2 separate regions of the Homo sapiens genome follow, and region 2 is linked to region 1. The links are contacts of gene promoters, found by promoter capture Hi-C in blood cells and fetal thymus (Javierre and others, 2016). All regions are on one chromosome and are shown on one strand. Each heading gives the region's core, a stretch centred on a gene start or on the middle of the fragment in contact. The rest is flanking DNA. Distances are from core to core; before and after follow the strand shown.

Evidence for each region. Contacts are between HindIII fragments. The CHiCAGO score rates a contact against its expected background, and 5 or more counts as called.
Region 2: a fragment that was not itself captured here is called in contact with the fragment with the promoter of OR9K2 in region 1 in 2 of 17 cell types (naive B cells and endothelial precursors); the score reaches 6.2 in naive B cells.

What each region holds. Positions count from the first base shown.
Region 1 is chr12:55,123,568-55,130,443 of GRCh38, reverse strand. OR9K2 (olfactory receptor family 9 subfamily K member 2) reads right to left here and starts at 4,038. Exons shown (of 3, transcript NM_001005243.2): 1 at 3,928-4,038; 2 at 3,533-3,616; 3 at 1-618. The coding sequence starts at 609. It also overlaps the pseudogene LOC644383. The HindIII fragment of the contact is 7,142 bases long and covers 1-5,437 here.
Region 2 is chr12:54,994,053-55,000,928 of GRCh38, reverse strand. The region is part of intron 1 of LOC107984515 (a long non-coding RNA gene); the gene reads right to left. Among named protein-coding and RNA genes, the nearest start is that of TESPA1, 13 kb to the right of the region's middle. The HindIII fragment of the contact is 2,286 bases long and covers 1,422-3,707 here.

The sequences.
Region 1 (6,876 bases), core at 2,789-5,288:
AAAAGATATCATTCTATGGATAAAGAGATCAGAACAAGACAGTCTCTGAAGTGGGCGAGAATCACAGTAAAAGTGGTCAACAGCCCGAGAAGCGCAAAAAGATAAAGTAAATGTCATGCTAGTCTGAATAACTGAGCTAATGCAGCCACAAAAATAGGAACCAGCCACCAACTGAGTACACAGACGTGTGGACATTTGAACAGAGTAGAGCAGAGGGTTGCAGATGGCAATAAAGCGGTCATAAGCCATGGCCGCCAGGAGAAATCCCTCAGTCACAATGAGGAGGGCAAAGAGAAAGAGCTGGGCCACACAGCCTGCAAAGGAGATAGACTTGTTTTCAGACCAGAAGTTGATCATAGCCTTGGGTTCAATAACAGATGAATAGAAAAGATCAATGAAGGAGAGATTGCCTAGGAAAAAATACATTGGTGTGTTCAGCCGAGGATCAGTCATAATAATGGTCATCATCCCAACATTCCCTAGAAGGATCATGGCATAAACAAACAAAAATAGCAGGAAGAGGAGAATGTGGAGCTCTGGGCGTACCCTGAAGCCTGCAAGAATGAAGTCAGTCATTTCTGAGTGATTGCTTGTTCCCCTGTCACCCATGGTAGAAACCTGTTGAGAGGCACAGGGCAAAATATACAAATGAACTCTTGGTTTGGATCCTAGCATTACAAATAATCTCTTATGGTATTAGGATTTACAAAGCTATTTTTAAATTAATGTTATTATTAATTTTTGCCTCATAAGTATACTGTGACTTAAAGCCAATCAATTGCTGTTGAAACCAAAGATTAGTTGCATTTCTTATTTCTTTAAGTGTTAGAGTTAGGTTTTTTGCCTCTGCATCTAATACAATGCCTTTCTACCCAAATGCCTTTCACATTTCCAAGTATCACTTCTTTATACATTTCCCACTCATGATTCACACAATAACTTCAACATCATGAAGCAGTGACTGGAAGAGAGCACAATTAATTTTAAAAACGACTTTGGGAAGCACATTAGTTAGTTTGGGTTGGGAGATATTTGGGGTTTTAGTAGCCAAGTTTAGGAAAACAGAGACTTAATTTGGAGTACCAACAAATATAAAGGAAGTGACTGAGTTAAAAAAAAAAACCTACTTGAGAAGTGCAATTACCTTTCACAAGTCATGGAAACTGGATTCTGATGGAAGTTATGTACCCACTAAGATAAAAGGTGTGTGCAACCAAGCACAAAATTATTACTACTCATATTCAAGAATTTCTGTCCCAGATGGGCCATCAAAGCACTTTCATAAAGAAAACTTCCCTTCATTTCTTGATCCCAAGACTTGGAGATCTTTAACTTCTAAGTTCAGGGGTGCAAGTGCACGTTTGTCACATAGGTAAACTTGTGTCATGGGGTTTTGCTGTACAGATCATTTAATCACCAGGGTATTAAGCCTAGTACCCATTAGTTATTTTTCCTGATCCTCTCCCTCCTCCCACCTTCCACCCTGCAAAAGGCTCCAGTGTGTGTTTTTCCCCTCTATGTGTCCATGTGACTTGCAGTTCTTTAAAAAGAGATCTACAGTAGAACTCTTCCACAGATAAAAGAGTTACTTTAGGAATTAATACTGCAAAGGATACATATGGGGGCATTGCTGATTACACTTTTATTTGCCCTGAATACAACTTTTGTAGCCATTATTAACTCATTACTGCTCAAATAGATTTTTTAACTTCGTATGTTAACAATACAAGCCACTCTTTCTCTGTCCTAAGGGCTTTATGTGCATGATTCTGTCTAGGCAACAATAATAACAAATATGTATATGGCACTTTTTATGTGCCAGACACTTTTCTAAATGCTTTCATAGTAGCTCATTTAATCCATTCAATAATAACATTAGGTGGTTATTATTATATTCCCAAGTTTACAGATGAGTAAATTGAGGTACAGAGAAATGAAGTCTGCTGAAATTCACTTACTTGAGTCAGAATCAAGATTTGAAGCCAGGAAAACTGGCTCCAGAATCCATGCTTTTAATCATCATTAATGATTAATCACTGTACTATATCAACTTTAAATAAAGGACCCTTCCTGTTCCCCTACCTTACTTCTGCTTGTACTTTAGAGTGTAGTTAAAATTTCATATTTCCAAATAAAATCTCTAATTCTTCAACCTGGGTCAAAACATCTCATCCAAAGATAATTTGAAGAGACCAACTGCCACCATATTTTAATATTGAGGTTACATATTAATTATTCTTCACTTGACAATAACTTAAGACAAAATTCAATTTGTTCTCCATATATTGTCAGCATAACGTTATGTGTCTGGTAAATGGCAGTTAATACATATTTACTATAGATAAAAGTTGAATGATAATGATCATGCAGAAACAGAGAAAAATATAAAAACTATCCATCCAATACTGCAGTGGTTAGTATGGGTTTTAGGTTTAAATAAATCTAGGCTCCAGTTCTGCTTCTCTCACTTTCTAAATGGGATCTTGGACAAGTTACTTATGCTCTCTCTCTATGCTACTGTATTCTCATATATAAAGTGGAAATAAGAGTCCTCAAAGTTTTCTTGGGAATAGAAAATGACATACGTATGTAAATCACTTAGCACCATTTATGGTAAACTAAGTATTCAGTAAATGTTAGCCATTATTTTTATTATACGTTTCAGTGCTCAGTCCCACTATTCATACCAAATAGTGCTTATTAGGTTGAAAACCAATAATATATATGGTCGTTTTTGGACAAAACATTCTCAGTTGAGGGGAAGAATCAATCTGTTAAAAGTTTAGAGAGATGAAGAACTCTTGGAGAAATGGAATATTTTGCCTGAGAAAAAAGATTATTAAGAGAAAAGCTGAATAAGATGTTATCATTATTTAAGACTGTATTAAATGTTGAAAATAAAATATTCACCCATTTTATCAAAAATTAAATATGTAAGTAATTAAGAAGTAGTAAGAGCTTACATTAGATTGCACTTAGGGTCTGGAAAGATGTGAGACATTTAAGAAGTGAAAGAAAGCTGACTGAAGTCAGCATGAAAAATCATTTTTTGAAAAATAATATATATAATTTATCTTCATTTTATTCTCATCTAGAAGCAAAACAGATTATTTTAATTTCTAAGATTTATTTCTATCAAACTCATTTCAACATTAGAATTTAATATTATTATTAATAGTAATTATTCCTCACTTGACAATAATATCCTTAACATCAAACTCAGCTTGTTTGCTGCGTATTGTCAACATAATGTTCTGAATCTAGTGAATGACAATAATTCAATACATATTATTACGTAGAAAAAAGCTGAATGATAATGAGTATGTGGAATCAGAGAATATAAAAAAACAAACTTATTAAAATAAATTTATATCATAAATGTTATAAACATTGTAACATTATAAATGTTAATAAATGCATTGCTGATGACATTTTTTACCTGGAAAAGGGAGTTATTCCCGCAGAAGCCAACAACAAGTAGTCAGTTTGTGACTTATTTTTCAAAAACTTACAGGTTTTAAGTTACTTTTACCTTGTATTGTTTAGTAACTGGTCAGATTCTGGTAAAAATCAATCAGCAGAGTTCCAATGTTTTCCTCTGTTTATTGTTTTAATTCTAGAAAGGATAAACATAAAGTTAATTAATGACTGTCATAATTATAAATACTGAAAAATAATTACTTTGAAATAAAATGAATCATTCCCCACAAATCCACATTTATTATTACAGTTTTAGATTCTTCCCATAGATAAATGTGGCTTATGTGCCTCATTGCTCTATTTTAAAAAGTCTTTTTTTCAGTAGTTGATTTCCTGAAAAGTTTTATAGTCCTTTTTAGAAGAGAGTCAAGGTGAATTTTTCAAATCATGTTCTGCCAAAACTGAAGTGATTCCAGGAACAAAAATCTATAGATAAGCAAAGTGAACCTGAGGAATCAATCCACAAGATATTATCTATCCTGAATTCTCAGAAACTTGTATGCTTTCAAGGCAAGAGGATAGATTGCCATGGATATGCAAGTAGAGGTCCTGAGCTCTTTGGCATCTCTGAATACTGCCAAAATATCAACAGCAGTTATCCACGAGGGCTTCGGTTTTGCTACAGCTTTTTCATATAATTACAGTATTGAGATTTCCTCTATGTTCTGGGAGACAGTACCTCTGGGAGAGAAGAACACAAGTCAATTAATTAGTAAGACTTCTAGGATCTAAAAGCAAGATCCATGAAGACCTCAGAGATTCTATATTTTTTTAAAAAGCCTAAGAGTACTTAAAGTACATATGAGACATTCTTTAGGAAAAATCACAAGGATCTTTTAATTTTAATTTCTTCACTGAAAAAGCAGCATTTTCAATTTATCATTATAGCACAGTTTTTGATAAGCAAGTAGAAATAGATACGAAAGGAAATGTTGTGGTTCATAATGCCATTTGTAGGAAAATTTTGAGTCCTAATCATAAAGTTAATTTCATATTTACTTTCAGAATTCTATTCACCCAAATCTCTCCTTGATGACTTTTTAAACTATATTTTCTCAATAGTAATTGAGAAGAAAGATAGAACAGCACGACCATGATATGGGCAAAAATCCAACAAACGCCCTCTAATCCATCAAGTAAAGGCCACATGATTAACTGGATCTAAAGTTGGGTTTATATTGTAATTTTAATTGCTTTAAAGTTGTTTATTCAGGTGTCATGTATTAAGTTAGTAACTTCTCATCAGTCCCTGTATATAGTTCAAAATAATTTAAAGAACTGTTGGTTCCTTCCGGTGAGTGTTAAAGTTCTTAAAGGTGGTGTGTCCGGAGTTTGTTCCTTCAGATATTTAGATGTGTCCAGAGTTTCTTCCTTCTGGTGGGTTTGTGGTCTCACTGACTTCAAAAGTGAGTTACAGCTCTTAAAATCTCTTAAAGGTGGCATGTCTGGAGTTGTTCGTTCCTCCCGGTGGGTTTGTGGTCTCGCTGACTTGGAACCAACCCAAATGTCCAACAATGATAGACTGGATTAAGAAAATGTGGCACATATACACCATGGGATACTATGCAGTCATAAAAAAGGATGAGTTCATGTCCTTTGTTGGGACACGGATGAAGCTGGAAACCATCAGTCTCAGCAAACTATGGCAAGGACAGAAAACCAAACACCGCACGTTCTCACTCATAGGTGGGAATTGAACAACTACAACACTTGGACACAGGGTGGGGAACATCAGACACCGGGGCCTGTCCTGAGGTGGCGGGGGGGGACAGATAGCATTAGGAGATATACCTAATGTAAATGATGAGTTAATGGGTGTAGCACACCAACATGGCACATGTATACATATGTAACACACCTGCACGTTGCGCACATGTACCCTAGAACTTAAAGTCTAATAATAATTAAAAAACAAAAACAAAAAAAGAAAAGAAAAAAAACAAAAAGGAGTGAAGCTTCAGACCTTTGCAATGAGTGTTACAGCTCATAAAGGTGGCACCTCCAGAGCTGTTCTTTCTTCGGGTGGGTTTGTAGTCTGGCTTGCTTCAGGAGTGAAGCTGCAGACCTTGGTGGTGAATTTTACAGCTCATAAGGGCAGCAGGGCCCCAAAGAGTGAGCAGCAGCAAGATTTGTTGCTAAGCTGAAAAACAAAGCTTCCACAGGGTGGAAGGGGAATCTAGTGGGTTGCTTTTATCCCCTTATTTGTCCTCACCCACGTCCTGCTGATTGGTCCATTTTACAGAGCACCGATTGGTCCATTTTTCAGAGTGCTGATTGGTCCGTTTTTACAGAGTGCTGATTGGTGCATTTACAAACCTTTACCTAGACACAGAGTGCTGATTGGTGTGTTTACAATCCTTTAGCTAAACAGAAAAGCTCTCCAAGTCCCCACCCCACCCAGAAGCCCAGCCAGCTTCACCTCTCAGTTGGTTCAGCAAAATGAATGTAAATTCAGTAAGGAGACTGAATTTAGAGCTCATTTTATCAATTGTTGTGTTCCCCTAGTAAAATTATCTCTCCGTTAAGCAGTAAGAATATTCATTCAGCAGGGACAAATGTCATGCAAGCATCCAGCAAAAAAAAATTGAGAGTGAGTTGATAGGTTTTACAGTGGTGGCTGACAATCCCATTTTGACTCCTTGTACTTGGACCTGTAATTGTTTCATATATTTGTCGCTAATGAAGAGCACAGATTATATCCTGGATGACAGTTACTCACCTTTCTAAAGTAATGACATCCAGTTGGTCCAACAACTGAATCTTTAATAAATTATTCCGGTCGCTGCCGCCGATGCTACCACCGCATTTGGATGTAGAATTTGGAATCCCTGTGCACCTGTTAACAAGGAAGCAGAGTTTGAACTGCCAACTTTCCTCAGCAAGCTGTGGACTCTTGTGGAGGAAACCCACACTAAGGAATTCATCACCTGGAACCAGAATGGCCAAAGTTTTCTGGTCTTGGATGAGCAACGATTTGCAAAAGAAATTCTTCCCAAATATTTCAAGCACAATAACATGGCAAGCTTTGTGAGGCAACTGAATATGTATGATTTCCGTAAAGCAGTACATATCGACTCTGAAATTGTAAAGCAGGAAAGAGATGGTCCTGTAGAATTTCAGCATCCTTACTTCAAACAAGGACAGGATGACTTGTTGGAGAACATTAAAAGGAAGGTTTCATCTTCAAAACCAGAATAAAAAAAAATTCTTCAGGAAGAATTTAAAAAAAATTATAAGTAGTGCTCAGAAGGTTTCAATAAAACAGGAAACTATTGAGTACAGGATTTCTGAATTAAAAAGTGAGAATGAGTCCCTTTGGAAGGAGATGTCAGAATTATGAGCAAAGCATGCACAACAGGAACAAGTTATTCAAAAGATTGTCCAGTTTACTGTTGC
Region 2 (6,876 bases), core at 1,315-3,814, 130 kb after region 1:
TGGTGAAACCACATCTCTACTAAAAATACAAAAATTAGCAGGGTGTGGTAGCGCGGGCCTGTAATCCCAGCTACTCAGGAGGCTGAGGCAGGAGAATCGCTTGAACCCGGGAGGCAGAGGTTGCAGTGAGCTGAGATGGCACCTTTGCACTCCAGCTTGGGCAACAGAGTGAGACTCCATCTTAAAAAAAAAAAAAAGGAGGTGACTATGTGAAGACAAAAACACACACAAAGAACTCCATGTGAAGACAGAGATTTGGAGTATTGCATCTACAGGAGTAGGAATGCCAAAGATTGCCGGCACACCACCAGAATCTAGGAGAAGACAAGGGAGAATTCCCCTATAAGCTTCATGGAATGTGGCCAGCTGATACCTTGATTTCAGGCTGCTACCCTACAATAAACACCACTCAATTTCCAGTACTTTGTTAATGGCAGTGACTGGAAACAAACACAATGCCCCTCCTCTGAGCTCTCATTGCAACTTCTAATTATCTATGCATCTGTCTCTCTTTCTCTAGACTGAGTTCCTGCAGGGGAAAGACTCTCCTTTTCTTCTACCCTGGATCATCTCTAGAGCAGTGCTTGGTAAGGTGCTGAAAACTTGGCACTAAATGATCAAATGAATGAATAAAGAGGCAGAGAAGGTTGCTGAGTATATGGAAGAACATCAGAGATCCAGTCAGAGGTTTTCTTTTGTTTTTAGAAATTCTACTACCAGAAATTTTTCCTTCAATGCTTTGAAATATCAGATTCTTCCTTAAATGCACTTCCAAAGGAAGTAGTCACACAAAAATGGAACAATTATTTGTGGGAGGGATCATTGTAGGCAAATTTGAGAGGAAAGTTGGTGGCAAAAGAAAGGGCCCTAACGGGGGTTGCCCAGACCTTTAAGAGGCAGATCTGCTCTCCCTCAGTTAGGAGGACATGAATTTGGGGTCCAGAAAACTCCAGAAGTAAAACATCCGTCAGCTGTTCAAGGCCATCTCTGGCTACTCCTTTCGTCTTATCCTTTATGCGTGCAGGTCATGAAATTGCTATGACTTTCTTGTCCCTATATCTTTTCTCTCTCTACCCAGAATTCCTATCCTTATTTTATTGGCCTTCTGAACAATTTTTCAAAACCTCACCAAGAATCACCTCGTCATTGATGCCTTTTCTGATTCTTATTGCAAGCCTCTTGTGTTGCCACTGCGCCTTGCACAGATTTCTTGATTTCTGCACATCTACACACATTTAGACCCATCATGAGGTCCTGATCTTTCTGAAGGCAAGAATTATGCCTTTACATGTTTCAATACCCATCTCAGTATGTGGCATATGGCAAGTGAGCAATAAATGTTTGTGGAATCAAGAAATTAAGTAAACCTTGTCTCTAGGGAAATTGTTTTACATCAAACTAAAACCTGGGCTTGGAAAGCTTCCGTACTTTCATACTTAAGTCCTTATGGATGAACCATAACCGAACTTAGTAGGTAGGCAGGGTGGAAATCTAACTGAGGAGTATACTTCTGTAACAAAAGCTGAGTCTCAGCCAATCCCAGTAGCCATACTCCAGCCATTCACAGGCTGTTGTTTAAACCATGTTTAAGTAAGGCAAAATGCCAAGCTGTAACCAGCCTAGCTATTTCCGTACATCACTTCCGTTTTATGTAAATCACTTTCCTTTTTTGGTCCATAAACTCACTCTGACCGCCAGGCATCCCTGGAGCCTCTCTGAATCTGCTGTGATTCTGGGGGCTGCCCAATTCATGAATCTTTTTTTTTCTTGTTCAATTAAACTCTGTTGGCCAGCACAATGCCACACACCTGTAATTCCAGCATTTTGAGAGGTCAAAGGAGGAGCATTGCTTGAGCCCAGGATTTTGAGACCAGCCTGGACAAGATAGCAAGACCCTGTCTCTGCAAAAAGAAAAAGAAATTTAATTAAAAAATCTATTAAACTCTGTTAAACTTAACTTGTCTAAAATATTTCTTTTCACAATTGAAACTTTTATGTTGTTCCAGCCATAAATAAGGAAAGGTAAAAGTTGAAGAATCAGCCTTGAAACAGTGTTCTGTAAGGGAAGCAACACTCTTTTTCACATGAGACAGAAGTAAAAAGAATTCAGCAACAATCATTTCAGGACAGGTTGCAGTGAGTATCTGAAGGAAAGATTTTGGTGCTGGGAACAAGGGAGGGACTCACAAAGGTAGCAGAAGAGTCTCATTCACGAGAAAGAGTTTCATGCTATGTTCTCTTCCTTGGCCTGATGGTGGTGGTCAGGCCCAGCTGAGCTGACCTGCAGGACAATGGATGGGACTTAGAAGGGTCATTTGAGTAAAACTCTCTTCTCCCATTCTGGTGTAATCTAATTCAAGGGCCCAGATTGGTTGGGGAAGACAAAACCACCCAGGCAAGAAGAGTCAAATATCCTCTGCAAATATTGGCAGTGCTCATTTACTTTTTATTGGCCCTGTACCCCAAAGGTGGGGGAAGACAATTCCATCCCAGAAAATATAATTAGTCAGCCTGCTGGTTTGGGCTCTAATTTAATCTGGGCAGCTGTGCCAGGAGCTTATATTAGCATGACACTGGGAGGCGGAGAATATAATTACTGAGCAATAGAGAAGGGGAGGAGAAGTGGGATGGTGACCAGTGTGTGTCTGTGATAGAGGATGGAGCTGGGGGGAGGGTGATGTCTATGGAGGGCGAGGATTCCTTTGGGAGTAAGGAAGAGGAAAGGGGCTTCTGGCAGTGGATGGACGGTGACTTTAATTTGGCTTTTGAGAAATTAGTGTGCAGTATATATATGTGTGTGTGTGTGTGTTGGGATGTTGGGTGTTGGGGGAGGGGGATTCGTAGCTCCAGGCTGGTCCACTCTGCATGACAAAGGTGAGCTTGAGAGTTGATGGATGGGCTTTGTGAGTTACCCTGGAGGGAATAGATGGGGGATGTTGGAGCAGGTTATGGCTGAATTTGGGACAAATATCCTTAGATACTTTTTCAGAGGATCAATCTAAATGGGGGAAGCAGAATGAAGACATGAAATTTGCACATGTATTATCTCCTTTTTGTTTCAGGCAGAAGAGATGTGATTAAAAGAATACTTCTTAGGTGATTTCATTCGTTCATACAGGAAAGCTACCAGGTACAAATTTGCTGCCAGGGTACTTACTTTCAGCTGGGCTCTAGGTTAAGCAGCTTACACTTACTGTCTTAAGTAGTCCTTGCCAAGCTCAACAAAAGTGTTAGGTGTTATAATCCTCATGTAACAATTGAGGAAACTGAGGCTCAGAGACTTTAAGTAAAATGCCCACAGTCACATAGCTAGTAAGTTTTGAAGGTATGATTCAAATCCAGGCTTGTCTGACTCTAAACACTGTGCTAATAATCCACAACTCCAAATAGCTATTATCCTCTCCATTTATATATGGGGAAACTGAGGCTCAGAGTGGTAAAGTAATTTGCATTTGCTCAAAATGTGAGTTACTATCAGAAGTTAAAATAGAATTTGGATCTTATGCAATACTGTCTCTTTACCAGAGGACATATGGGGGAAAAGAAGAAGATATTGTTTGCCGAGGAAAGAGCTGGATATACAGAAAGAAACAAATAGAAACCAGGTTTCCTCACCCTCAACCCAATGCTCTTTCACTGTAAGTGACAAATGTGACAACAGCTAAAGTCTCTGCTCCTTTCTTAAGTACTAGATGATATACTAAGCTTTACATACTCCCTCATTTCACTTGCACATCACTTTGAGGTCGCCACTATGATCGTCTCGTGTTACATGAGAAGGCGAAGGCTTCAAGGATGTGTAACTTGCCCAAATTCAAATAGCAGGTTAATGACAGAGCAGGGAGTCAAACCCAGACAGGCCATTCTCTAGTCACTGCCTCCCTATGGAACACACGGCCCCTCCAGGCATCATCGCATCCCTCCCGTTGTCAGAAAATCTTGGAGATCCATAGAAATCTTTCTTTATGACAAACATAAGCCAGTCCCACTCAGATGTCTGTCTGTTATTGCAGAGAGTAGGTAGACATGTAGGGATACACTGGGGATCCTTTTCTTTACCCTCAGAGTTAATTTTCCCTGTGGCTTTTAACCTTTCCTCTCCCCTTCAAGGACTCGCAAAATCATTCTGGCCCTACCCTAACTGCCTCTTGTCTTCTAAGAAAAAGCAGAGGAGAAGCCAGTTTCTCCTTTTCCTTCATACTTTGAGGTTCTGTTGCTCTTTCAGCTCTGTTTTTCCCAGGCAAATACCTCCCACTGGGGCCTTGAGAACCACTGGGAGTCAGAGGCAAGAGAAGCCAGCTTTCCTCCTCCCAAAGGAGGAAGATATGGAAGCTGTGCTCTCAGGCCTCTGGAAACCCAAGTTAGCTAGAGGAGAACCCCCAACGCCCGCCTGCAGAGTTCTGCTTGCTCAGCTGCTCAGCATCTGCCCTGCACCCAGAACTGGGTCTTCCCTAGGGTTCCTGCCAATCTCCTGGGCTCTGGCAAGAGGAACCAGGGGTGCAGATGTGTCCTGCATCCTGAAGCCTGCGGGCATCACTGGGCAGCCCCACAGCTCACGTTCAGGAAACCATCTTGATTGTACAGATTTCCTCCTGCTGATGTCCTCCACCCCTACAGATTTCTCTCCTTATCTCTTCTCCCTCACTCCTCTAAATCCACACGTGCCCTAAAAGGGCACATGATAAAATTACACAGATCTCTTGACTAAAAGTCAAAAGGCTTGATTTTCCCACTAGCTGTGTGGGCATTGATTTTCATCTGTCAAATGAGACAATTGGCATCTGCTCTCCATTTCCCACAACTTGTCATGAGAATGTGAGGAAAATGTGTATTTAAAAAGCTGGTATGTCAGTGACAAGCCAATGTTAGTATTGTCACTGCAATCAATGGATTATAAAGTAGCGTATATAATGCATATAGGTTTCAGAATCAGAGACATCAAGCTTTAAATCGTGGCCTTCTACAGAGACTCCTGAACCTCAGTTTCTTCATCTGTATAATTGGAATGCTAGTGCCTGCCTTGAAGGGTTGCTGTGAGATTTACACGAGAGGATGTACAGAGAAACAACCAGAAGAGAGATGGGTGAGTTGGAAGAGCTTAATGTATGTTTCTTTTCTCCCATATTCTAATGTTTTCCAAATTTAATCCAGAGCTGTTAGGTCTCTGCACTTATGATTGTGCTGGTTGTTCCTTGCACAAGGGAATCTGCCCAAAGGAACAAATCCATCCAAAATGTGTGATCTGAGCCTGGGCTGCACTGGCCTGATAGGAGGACATCACCAATCTACCAAGATTCGTATGTGCTAGACTCAAGGTTAAAAGATTACCTGGAGCAGGTCAGAACTTGGGTACCAGAGTCCCAGACAAAAGGAAGGCCTAGGCTGGGTGCGGTGGCTCACACCTGTAATCCCAGCACTTTGAGAGGCTGAGGCGGACAGATCACTTGAGGTCAGGAGTTCGAGACCAGCCTGGCCAACATGGTGAGACCCCGTTTCTACTAAAAATACAAAAATTAGTTGGGTGTGGTGGCAGGCGCCTGTAATCCCAGCTACTCGGAAGGCTGAGGCAGGAGATTTGCTTGAACCCAGGAAGCACAGGTTGCAGTGAGCTGAGATCGCACCACTGTACTCTAGCCTAGGAGCCAGAGCGAGATTCCATCTCAAAAAATAAAACAAACCAAAAAAAAAAAAAAAAAAAAAAGGAAGGTCTACAATGTGTCAGAGTTGAAGATAGTAAAATCACACACTCACAGTTTCTAGGGTGACATTTCTAAACATGGTTCTGATTTTATCCTATCCAGCTCAATATATTTTTGATGACTCCCAACTCTTAAGAAGATAAAATACCAAAACTAGTAGGTGAGAGTTGAAAGCTTAATAAGGAATAGGATATTGACATAGTTTGAAAATATTTAAAAGTACTTTTTAATTTAAAAAGGAAAATTATAAATTTACAGTGGAAAAAAAGAATACCACATTATATTACCAATAATAGGAAAACTGATACTACATACTTCCTGATGTGATGCACTGGGGAGACATCATCACATGTAGTAATCCTGACAAAATTGTCTAACGCAGATTGAATCACATGAACTGCAGACAAATCAAATTGAGAGATGCTCTACAGAATAGAAGGACTATACTCTTTAAAAATATCAACATCAAGTACACCATGGACACAAAGCAGGAAGCAACTTTGGGTCTACTTGAGGGTAATGAGTGGGAGGAGGGTGAGGATCAGAAAACTACCCATTAGGTACTATGCTCATTACCTGGGTGATGAAAGAATGTGTACAGCAAACCCCGCAACACCCAATTTACCCATGTAACATGTACCCCTGAACCTAAAACAAAAATTGGAAAGGAAAAAAATTCAATTTCCATGAAAGATAAAGAAAAGTAGAGAAAGAATTTCAGATTTAAGGAGACAAAAGAGACATGAAAACTATATGCAGTGTGTGATCCTACATATTATTTGGAAAACAATAAAGTCTGTAAACTAGATGATTGTATCAATGTTATTTTTAAAATTTTGATAATTATACTATAGTTATGAAAATTATTGTCTTTAATTTTAAGAGGCAAAGGGGCATAATATCTACAACTGATTCTCAAAATGTTGGGAAAAAATACATTATAATAAAGCAAAATATTAACAATTTTAAGTCAGAGTGACAGGTGTACAGAAGTTCTCTATTTCAAAGGAAAACTGTTAAAGTTAAAACAAATTTCATAACCCAAAATATGGTATTCAAGATTTCTTAGATCTAAACTTAATTTAGGTTAATTATCTTAGGTTCCACTCACTCTTTCTCATAACACAACTCACAGTATAGCCATGCTGAGCTACTTGATTTTTCCCAAACATACCCT